Regions from separate parts of the Homo sapiens genome. Here region 1 is linked to region 2. Evidence: promoter capture Hi-C in 16 types of primary human blood cells and fetal thymus (Javierre and others, 2016). All regions are on one chromosome and are shown on one strand. Each heading gives the region's core, a stretch centred on a gene start or on the middle of the fragment in contact. The rest is flanking DNA. Distances are from core to core; before and after follow the strand shown.

Region 1 (5,624 bases), core at 2,264-4,763, 630 kb after region 2:
TCAATGTTCTTTTGCAAGTTATTAAGATTACCTAGTAGTGAGTTAATTAATTTATTAATGTGCTAATCATCAATTAAAGCAAGCTTCTTTTAATTTAGTGGAATGGTTAAAATGATCTATATTACAAGTGAAATTTGTAACATTTTGGAACATATCATATGACCTCATATTTTGGAACACTTCATATGACTTATGCATTTTAGCTTAGTATAATGTTGTGATGATTACAAATATAGATTCTATATTCTGTCATATGTGGTTACTAAGAAGCAACTAGCAAATGTCAAAAGCATAACAGTATATCATCTGTTCACTTCCTATTTGCTGCTCACTATTTTATTTTACCCAATATCAGTATTTTTCCAAGAATTTTAACAAATGCCCATTTTCTATTCCTTTGATATAAATAGTTGAAATACTCCTGGAGTGAAAAAAGTAGAGGTTTCACTGTAAATAGCCATTAATTAGTTCACTCTCATCACTTTTTAGTCTAAACTGTATTTTAAAGATGCAGTCATCTTCTCAGCAATGACTTTTTTTTTGAGACAGAGTCTCGCTCTATCACCTAGGCTGGAGTACAGTGTGTAATCTTGGCTCACTGCAACCTCTGGCTCCTGGGTTCAGGTGATTATTGTGCCTCAGCCACCCAAGTAGCTGGGATTACAGGTGTGTGCCACTATGCGCAGCTAATTTTTATATTTTTAGTACAGATGGGGTTTCACCGCATTGGCCAGTCTGGTTTTGAACTCCTGACCTCAAGTGATCCACCTGCCTCGGCCTCCCAAAATGTTGGGATTACAGGCGTGAGCCACTGCGCCCGGCCCCAGTAATGACTTGTACTTTTTTTTTTTTGAAACAGAGTCTTGCTCTGTTGCCCAGGCTGGAGTGCAGTGGTGTGATCTCAGCTCACCACAACTTCAGCCTCCAGGGTTCAAGGGATTCTCCTGCCTCAGCCTCCCGAGTAGCTGGGACTACAGGTGCATGCCACCACGCCTGGCTAATTTTTTTTATTTTTAGTAGAGATGGGGTTTCACCGTGTTAGCCAGGATGGTCTCGATCTCCTGACCTAATGATCCGCCTGCTTTGGCCTCCCAAAGTGCTGGGATTACAGGCGTGAGCTACCGCACCCGGCCATGACTTATACTTTTATGGAATCAATCATGATTTTGCAGTCCATTTTAGACCATGACACACACACATACACACCCACATATATATGCTTATAGATCCCTTATGAATTATAAACATTCAAATATTTATGTAATAAATTTAATAAATTGCAGATATTGTATATAAGTGTAAACATGGATAGTACATTTCTCTTTAACAAATCAAGAGCCTGGGTGCTAATATATTTTTTTCCACATTTCTGGTGGCATATTCTTTGTCTCTTCATACGATAATAATTTGTAATATTTCAAAGATTTATTCACGTTTTTACATAAGGTAAAATTCATTCATTTTTATTGCTATATAATATTTATTGTGTGAAAACATCACAATCTAACCATTCTGTTGCCAGTAGACATGGTGGTTGTTTCCACCTTTTGCTATTAGGAACAAACCTGTTATTGACAACATTTCCTGTAGTTCCTTTGTATCACTGCAGCTCACTCCCTGCACTGTTGCTGGTGGTGGTGGTGGTGTGTATGTGTGTATACACATTTATGTGTGTATACAGCAAATCCAATTCTGATCATGTTATTACTTAAAACTCTTCAGCTGGTGGCTTGGTACCACCAGGAATAATATTCCAGATGGCCTAGAATGACTTCAAGATACATTATTGTACTTATATAGCAATTGCTACAGAAACTCAAGCAATTTTTTTGATGCTACACATCAAAATAATGATGTTGTGAAGTGGGTTTGCTACCCCTTCCACTTTCTTTTGTCAGCAGAACCTACTCTTGTCCCTCTTTGCTCTCTATTCTGGCACTATAGAGAGTCTAAATCTGATCAGATGTAAAAACGAATCTCTTATCATCAAACTTTTCCAGGAAAAATAAAAAGGAAATCCTCTTCTGGGAAGTTGTCCCAGAAAAAGCTATAATGGTGAAAAAAGCATGAGAGGAGTCACATGTCCCTGGTCTTTATGAATTGCCAAGTCAATTTTCTGGATCTCTTTGCATATCTAAAAAAGGCAAGTATGATTCCTGTATGGCCTGCCCTCTGGAGTGGTGTTGAGGATCAAAAAACAAAACAAAACAAAGCTTCCATATATTTCACACTTAGTGAACACCTGCTATGTCCCAGTCACTGTACTAGGTACAGAGACAAAAACCAACAACAACAATAAGGGTGCCTGTCTGAGTTCTCTGCATCCTGGCCATGTAGATTGACAGATTAAACTCTCTTAGCCTCTATATGCTCGCTTGTAAATGACGAGGGTAACAGAAGCTACTTCACATGGTAGTACAGTATTCATAACATCTACTTAACCCAGTGCCCGGTACAGAGTACTCAGATAATAAATTGCTGGGAATGAAGTGAGATAAATAGGTAACTAAATAGCTACAGTAGTGATCTTGACTACATTGGAGAGAAACATGCAGCTGCTGTAAGATACAAAAGGGTCATCTAATTCAGCTGAGGTGGCAGTCCTGCAGGATATGATGTTATCAGTTTTCAACTTAAAGGCGAGTAAATCATCCAGAGAAACTGGATAATTTCATTTTATTGATGTTTTTGCACAATAAAATAAAATCCAGAAAAACTGGTGAGGCAATGGGGATGAGTAACATCCCAGATGTGGGATTGTGTTTCATTCCCCTGGAGCAGGAGAGAAGGATCAAGACTGGGGAATATAAAGGGATCGGATCTTGAGGTGCCTTGAAAGGGGCAGAGGAGGTTGACCTCGGTCCCTTTGACCATCAGGAGACACCAAAAGTTCTAAGCTGGGAAGAACGCAATCAGAGTCGCATTTAAGTTAGGTCACTGCGTTCTGGCATGGATTTGCCCTGACCTGATTTTGACACTGGAGTAGGTAATTTGCGGGGGAGGTGGCCCGGTCTCAAGCAGTCGCGATAGGAATGGAGTAGGAGCCTGAGAGGAAGTTAGGGGAAAGAGGTAAAATCTACAGCTGCTGGCAGCAGAAGGAAGGCGGAGGCTGCAGAGGACACGAAGGCCATCCCGACCCTTGGCAATAAAGGGCATAGGAGGGAAGTGTCAAGACCTAGGCATGGGCGTCACCGCACAAGATAAAGCTCAGTTGGACCGCGGTAGATTTCGTCCAGGACCCGGTGCCAGTAGGCCAAGGAGCGGTTCAGACCCCTGCAGCAGCGTCTTGGGGTGCTAACGCCCTCCGCTGTTGGTGCGCGGCTGTCCCAGCACGGAGCGCGCACCCAGCAATCATGACAGCGCGGAGCGCCCTGGAACTGCGACAGGGCGGAGGTCGGGAGGGTGTGCGTGTCTGGGGCAGTCCCAGCCGGCGAGAAGCGCGATTCAAGCATCCGCGGTCCTTGCGGCCGCCGCCTGCGCCCCACGCCGAGGTGAGGAGCGGGAGCCCGGGTCATCCGCCGCCACTCCAGGAAAGGCTCCGCCCTCCGCGCCGAGAATGCGCCCTTCTGCCCGGGCTTGATATCACTTTTTCTTGTTACGACCTAGTCCATTTCCTTAGGTATTTTGTAGCTATCGCACGACCTAGGTCTACGTTGTATAATTCGTCAAACAGTAACTATTGTTTCTATGGGAAATCAGTTTTTCAAATGTTATCAGTCTACTGTTTTCCATGAATAGTTTACTCTTCGGGGATTCTGTTCTGATGCTGATTCCTGAGCTAAATTCTTGGATTTGTATTTCCCTTGAATATTCCAAAATATCCTGGACTATGGTGGACACACAGACTTTCAATAAATTCTTGAGAATCCATCGCGTTTTTTATGCAGAGGAAAACCAGTATCCTCTTTCTCCTTCCTCTTGTAACTGATAGGCCCTCGCCCGTCCTCCCTAGGCCATCCTGCCGTGCCCTCCGTCCAGTCCCCTTTTCCCCTCCCCGAGCAGGCATTCCCTCATCCCCTGTCATGGACCTTGCACCATCATCCTAATTAGCAACTAAGTCCAGTTTCTCTCCATTACAGTCTGGCAACCCTCCTCTCCCGTGAAACTCCGAAGGGTCATCGTTAGTATTATTCAGACAAATGTCAAGGCCTGCCTTTCAGACTCCTTGTGTCCATGTTTGTGACCCACCTGAACTTTTTCATTGTTTCCCTTCCACCCTTTTCCTGTATTTTTGTGGGAAACAGAATACTGTAATGAAAAGATGCCATTAAAAAATTATGAAAAATATCCAACATATAGAAATAACATCACTGATTCTGCTGAGAGTGAGCAAAAAAAGAAAAGAAATAACATCAAACATCTGGTCTGTATTCAAATTTCCAAATGTCTCCTGCTATAAATATTTGTTGATTTAGCGTGTTTGAATCAAGATCCAAATAAACTCCACACATTGTAATTGGTTCCCATGTGTCTTAAAGTAATTCATAGGTTCCCTTGGCATCTGGACTTCATCTTAGCCTATGTACCACTTTTTATTGTTGCTGGAGCAAATTAAAGGCCCTTCTCCTAGTGAAATGTGGGGACCCAGCAGTGCTGTTCAGATTTAGAGTTGTGCAATTCTGCATTTGTCATGCCCTTAAATAGCCCAGCTTTTCGGCTTGGAATCAGGAAGTGAAAAGAGCATACAAATACATGTCTCTTTAATTATGTTTTCATTCAGGGGAACGTTGAAGTACTTTATGAAAATTGCTGAGAGAAGCTAGGTTAAAATCTTTACATTTCAGGGAAAGAGAAGGAGGCTGTGCTAAGCTTCAGGCCAATCTGATACAACTGCTCCTTGATTCACCATGAGATTATGTCTGGATAAACTCAATGTAAATTGAAAATATTGCTAAGTCAGAAGTGTGTTTTTGACTTAGGATATTTTCAACTTATAATGGGCTTGTCTGGACATATTCCTGCCATAAGTGGAGGTATATACTGAATGTGTATGGCTTTTGCACCACCATAAAGTTGAAAAATCATAAATTGAACTATCGTAAGTTAGGATCATCTGTATTTGCTTGCTTCGCCATCTTAAATCATTAGTTTTCCTTCTCAGTATACACTTTTCCCTCTTATCACTTCATATTTTCTCTGTAGTCCCAAGACTGGCCTTTCATGCTATTACTCCTCACAGTTTCTGATCAACGTTCTAATGCCAAAGGCTGGCTGACAAATCATCAAGGATGCTGTAGAAGAGGTTTGAGATTAGACAGAAGGTGGGCCCAGAATTGATCCTATCTATCTCCTTCAGCTCTAGGACTGCACATACATCAAGAAATAAACCTGTTGTTGGGAAAGAACTTGAAAGGCAGATGATGACTCACCATCTTCTACCTATTAGACTACTGTTGGTGAAGAGTCAGCTGAGGGTGGCTTAAAAAAATATTGCACATTGATTTTCCACCCCATTATGTGTCTAAACCCAGAAGTTCTTCTGGTAGATGTGCACACGCTAGCAATATGTAGGCACCTATTGAACACTGACCAATGAGTGCCATCTTGGCTGAGTCTGGTGGCTTACACCTGTAATCCTAGCACTTTGGGAGGCCATGGTGGGAGGATAAGCTGAGGCCAGGAGT
Region 2 (5,990 bases), core at 1,644-4,143:
GCTGGGACTACAGGCACCCGCCACCACGCCCAGCTCATTTTTTTGTATTTTTATTAGAGACAGGGTTTTACTGTGTTAGCCAGGATGGTCTTGATCTCCTGACCTCGTGATCCACCCACCTTGGCCTCCCAAAGTGCTGGGATTACAGGCATGAGCCACAGCACCCGGCCAATTATACTGTTCTTTACACCCAACTCAACCAATCCATTCGATTTCTCTTAAACATGCAGCATATTAGATACTGTTTCAAATTTAGTGTTATATGCTAAAACCAACTATTTACCTAGAATCTATTAATAAATTTAAAATTTCCAAGCAACATGAGATCAAGAAGTTAGAGAAAAAATTTTTGAATTTTTGTTATGTATCACATTTCTGTAAATTATATAAAATTGTGACACTGCTTTTCTTCTTTTGTAGAATGGTATGAAATAGATGACTGAACTTTAGCTAAGGATAATTATACTTATGTGCTTTCCAAGATACTATATATAGTATGTCCCCCCACTTTACAAATTATGGTCATTGTAATTTCTCTGTCTACAGTTAGAGAGTCTATTTATCTACCTATTACTTTTTTGAAACTTCTAACCAACCATTCAAACTCGACACTAGTTTCCCCAAAGGAAAATGAGAATAATCCTACTAGTAAGCATTTGTAGGAATATTTTAGTTACATTATAACATCTACATCATTGCCATATGGCAATAAAGAAGCCAATCAAAGTCCTACAGAAAATGAACATTCAGTTAGCAATGTAGCAAATCTGGAGATATTGCAGTATCAATGGAAGAAGCCCAGGATATTAAAAATAAAACTCCAAAGTGCTTAATGACCATTGCAGAATTTGTTTCATAAACAAAATCTTTAAAAACAAGAGTCTGATTTCTGTTAACTATAATTTCAAGTGGCAGAAATATAAATGTGGTTTTGATAACTTTGTTTCCTTTATTTCTGAAAAGCAGAATCCTGTGTGGTACTGAAATAAAATGTCAAATGGTATCTTAGAAAATTCTAGCCCTATCAAAAATAATATATAAAACCATGTAATGTCATAAAACTTTTAAAACTGCTTTCTCATATTTTGGGGTAACCTTTTAAAATGGTAATTCAATAAACTAGTTTTTACTTCTGTAAATTTATACATTTTTTGGTCTTTTTTCAAGGTCAAACTGATACTGTTATTTTGAATATGAGGGGGTGAATAAAATTGCACACTGTAAGAATCCTGAGACTATGTTACACACAACTAGACAATTTTTTGGATTCTCCCAGCGTCTTAAATATTTTCTTGCTTACCAACAACTTCTTAACCTGTAGGTGAAACACAATGAAGGCACTAAATCCGAAACCACGAAATTTGGAAGCAGACCTAGGCTTGTACTCTGGCATTACTACTTACTACTTTCGTACCTTGTGGTAGATACTTTAACTTCTCTGAATCTGCTTTCTCAAGTATAAACAATGAATAACAATACCTGTCTGGAGTCATGAATGAAGATGGAATGAGATTACACTGCCTGGAGCATTCTGAGTGCTGAATAAATGGTGGTTTCATTCTCAGCTCTCCTTCAGCAATCCTGATCTGACGCTCCTGTGACAGACATTTGTCCACGTAAATACGGTATGTTTTCTGATTCTTCCTAGCAACTTCCTTTATAAGTAATCCACCCATACATTTACATGTTAATTCTAACAGAGTCCATAATAACGAGTGAGCTATTTTAACAGTGTCAGCAGAGACAGATTAAAGAATTGATGAAAAGTAATTCCGTGCAATTTAGGGATTACTCATCTTATTTTCACTAACAGATGACTGCCATCTTGTACAGATGTATTTCGCATACAGAAAATTACATTTAATCACAATATTGTTTGGGTGGGTTAGTCTGTAACTTGAAGTAAAATGTATTGACAGGATAAAATGAAAGCTTTGAAACAGTGCAAAGGTGGAAAAACGAGGTTGAGCGAGAAGCAGGAATTACCAATCTTCATGGTTAGAAGATTCATTAAACGCATTTGCCTTCAAATATTAGATTCTCTACAGAATGGTGGTAAAAAGGCCAGTGAGAAATTAACAATAGTGAGAACACCAGAGTAGTGTTAAACCACCTTGATAATCAGATGGCTCGGAGCAGTTTAAAGCCCTCACGAAAGAGGATTTTTTTTTACCTTCCCTGTCTCCCGCAATTAATGCCATTTCTAAAAGAGAAAATATGTCACACATCAGCGCTCAATAGGCTGACATGCTCCTCAAAACGTTCCTTAAAAAAAAAAAAAAAAAAAAAAAAAAAAAAAAAAAACTTGTGTGCAAATATTTCAGATGCCATTCCACCCCAAACCCGTTCCAAAACCTAAAAATCACTTTCAAGCCAAACTCACGGCTCGTTGGTGATTCACAGCCAGGATCTCGAGGCAGGAACAATAGTGCACTCACCCCGCATCCTCCTGAATCAGCCATTTCGGTAAGAAGATCCAGAAGCACTAGCAGTTTGTTTGTAATTTGTTTACAATTTAAAAGCAAGTTATTTCCCAAAGGAAATCTAAGCAATTGTTAAGTGTTTTACATTACGCAGTCGCCAATTTTACAATTCATATCATGAACCCACTTTGCCCTCCGCCCGCGTCCCTCTCGGAGCCCACGACGCTCAGCAGTCGAGCCCTGGCACCGCACAGCCCGTAGGAGCCTGGAGCGCTCCGCGTTTTGCCCCAATTTCCCTACTTGGGGGTCTCCGCTACAGCTAGAGCGGTCGGCCAATGGAGACCTTCTCCCGCACTCGCCGTCCCGCCTTCCAGTTCCACTGAAGCCAATAAAAAGGGCCGTCTGGAGACAGAAGCCAATGGGAGCTCGGGTAGAGTCATCATGATTGGCTGCGGTCTCTTCGTAGTGCAGTCTAGGCCTCCGCCTCCGTTACCCTGGAGCCCAGGTTACCGCCGCTGCCACCCAGGAGCCCCGATCCTCGCCTCTGTCCCATCCTTGTGTTCAAACCTCCCGCATCTCGGCAACCTCGGCACCCGCCCGGCAGCCTCCGCAGGAACCAGGCACCCGCTCTTTGGCGGTCAGACGCCGAGGCCCCAGCTGGGAGTTTGGTCCTAAGAGGGAAGGCAAGGAGGCGGGACGCCGCATCGGCTCTGCTGAAGAGCCTGCGGGTTGGAGGTGGGCTTTGAAGTGGGCGTGGAGACGGCGGGGGAGGTGGAGGTGCGAGGTGAGGCTGGGTTGAAGCGTCTGGTAGCTAGTGAAGGGGCGTTCGTGGATGGGGGCCTGCGGGTGGTTCTTAAAGCAGGGAAGATGAAGGGATTAGGGATGGGGGAGGATGTAGGGACCGCGAGGAGAAGGAAGACCTAGGAAAATGAGTAAAGAGCTCGGCTTCTGAGAGGGTCCCGAGGAAGGGAGGTTGACCGGCACTGGGGGGACTGGGAAGTTAGGAGGAGAGGAGCTGGGAAAGGGTATTTACTTCCTGGGACCGAGAAGAGAAGAAAGGGAGCAAGCGGATCTAGAGAAGTGGTTGTTATTAAAACAAACAAAACAAAAACCCCGGAGGCCCGTGGAGACTCAAGACTAGAGAGGAGGGGCAGGGCCAAGGGCCAAGACGGAAAAGGAGGCTTTGGTAGCTCTCGGATAATAATAGATGTGTTATTATTAAAACTGTGGTTAGAGTGGAAAGCCGTACTTGTCCAGGCTGTGATACTTCTATACATCCTTCAGGGATGGGATGAGAGGAGTAAAGATGGTTAGAAATAAAAGAAAAAAGAAAGTGCCTTTTTGGCATACTCGAGTTGGAGTCGGTACTCAGATACGTGATGTTTACGTTAGATAGACCGTGGGATAGTGTTTAACAGTGAAGAGCCCTGGTCCAGTTCATCTGATATAAACCCCTTTTTTGTTCACTTTGTTCTTTGGAAAGTATACTTGGGCACATACATATTTATTCCCCTCCTTTATCTTCACGTTAAGAACTTGCATTAGAGATATCTTTGCAATCAGAAGTCATCATTTAGTTTTTGGCAGAGGGAGTGGCTATATGTGTTTTAGAATGGTAAAACCGATGTTTCCAGTTCTTTACTCATTCCCTCTTTCTTTTGCATGGTTATTTTAATCTATGTTTTTTTCCAGTTGTTCCACATTTAAATTCTATATTACCATTTTAAATATTTCACTTTGTGATTTCCCATGTTAGCTAGTATGTTTATCCAAATAAGTTATAGGAAATAATAGTTTGTTTTGATTCTCTAAGTTGACAAAGTATCATTTTAAATATCAAAAAGTAGTTTGTGACTTTGGAAAAGAGATTTTTCTTCTTTTGTGAGTCACATCTCTTCCGTTACACATATTGTGGAACTATAATTCTGTAGGACACAATGGAAGCCCATTAAATAAAGATGCTACCCTTCTCTTGGGTTCTTCATCTGCCTGTCATTCTTCAACTCCTTTGTGGGATCTTCTTCCTCGGCCCACCATATTTCATTATTGTTTTTCCCAATAATCCAGTCTTCAGTCTTCCGTCTTCTATTTTTTACTCTGTGTTCTTGGCTGTGTTCTTCCTCTCCTTTGGCTTACACTATTTGTGTTTTATTAACACTCTCCCAATTTTTTATTTCTGATCTGGAACTTTTGAGTTACTGTCAAACTTTTGTAGCTAATTTTTGGTATTTCCACATAAATTTCCTATCCATAGGCATCCCAAACTCAGTATGTCCAATATTGAACCCATCACCTTTCCCTGCCAAAGCTGTCCTGCTTGAATACCACATTCTCCTAATTTTGCAAGCCCAAAACTTTGGAATTTACTCAAGTTCTTCTCTATTCTCAGACTTCATATTTAATCTGTCACCAAGTGTAGTTTATCTTACTTGAAAAACATTTCTGGAATCAGTTCCGTACTCTGTATCTCTAGTTATACTACTTTCAAAACACTGTCTGTCAGTGATTATCGAGACCAATTGATATTCTTCCTCCAGCTTTCCTGCCCTCCAATTCTTAGATTGGAGATGGATCCTTGCAAATGTCAGATCTGATAATATTAACCCTACTGAAGAGCCTTGGTTTCCAACCAACTTATTAATGACATAGAGATTCTTCTTGTGATATTATCTTCCACCCGATCCAGTCCCACTTATTATTACTTTAGCACTACTCCCCAGCCAGTGCCATCCTTTTAAACTAGCATTGTCCATTTGAAATAGAATGTGAGCTATATCCATTTTTTTCAGTAGACACACAATAAAATACAGGTGAAATTTTAATGTATTTTTAAGTCACATATATCCAGAATATTATTTTAGCATATGTCAATGTAAGAAAGATTATAGAAGAGCTATTTTATGGTCTGTTTTATGTACTAAGTTTTCAAAATTCCACATGTATTTTACACTTGCCGCATATGCCAATTCTGAATAGCTACATTTGAGGTGCTCAGGAGCCACTGTATTGGACAGCACAGTTGTAAAGTATTTGCAGTTTGGTGATATGCCATGCTTATCTAATGCCTTTTACTTTTGCAAATGCTGCATCCTCTTATTGAGACAGGGTCGTACTTCACTGTCTTCTTTTTCTAACCTCATTTACCCCCCCACTTTTCAAACACACACATCCATGAAATTATAATTGTGCTTAACCTCTGCTAATACCGTAAGACTCAATTTAGGCATTATCTCCTCTAGAAACCTTCTCAAACTCCCTCTGTCCTCTAATCTTAGTTCTGAGTTTACTAAGCTTTCTCTGCTTCCTTTTATCATTAGTACTTATAGACTGTCGCATTATTTTTTTTTCCTCTTGGTTGGGAATTACTTAACGGTAAAGGATCAGTTGTATTTTACTCATTTTTGTATCTTCAGCTCCATCTATAATCTAGCGCCTGACATTTCATAGGTGTTCAGTAAATGTCTTATAAATGAATAAATGAATGAATGAACATCTTAGGATGTTTTCATTTGACTGACTAAACTTTGGGAATATGTACTGTACTTAAGATGTTTTAATTTGATCCAT

Evidence for each region. Contacts are between HindIII fragments. The CHiCAGO score rates a contact against its expected background, and 5 or more counts as called.
Region 1: a fragment that was not itself captured here is called in contact with the fragment with the promoter of LCA5 in region 2 in 4 of 17 cell types (monocytes, M1 macrophages, M0 macrophages and 1 more); the score reaches 8.7 in monocytes.

Annotation. Positions count from the first base shown.
Region 1 is chr6:78,908,563-78,914,186 of GRCh38, reverse strand. It overlaps a transcript of IRAK1BP1 not described here. Among named protein-coding and RNA genes, the nearest start is that of IRAK1BP1, 44 kb to the right of the region's middle. The HindIII fragment of the contact is 2,596 bases long and covers 2,216-4,811 here.
Region 2 is chr6:79,534,333-79,540,322 of GRCh38, reverse strand. LCA5 (lebercilin LCA5) reads left to right here and starts at 2,893. Exons shown (of 8, transcript NM_001122769.3): 1 at 2,893-3,158. It also overlaps a transcript of SH3BGRL2 not described here. RefSeq lists enhancers at 1,276-1,849, 2,380-2,429, 2,424-2,997. The HindIII fragment of the contact is 3,782 bases long and covers 1,935-5,716 here.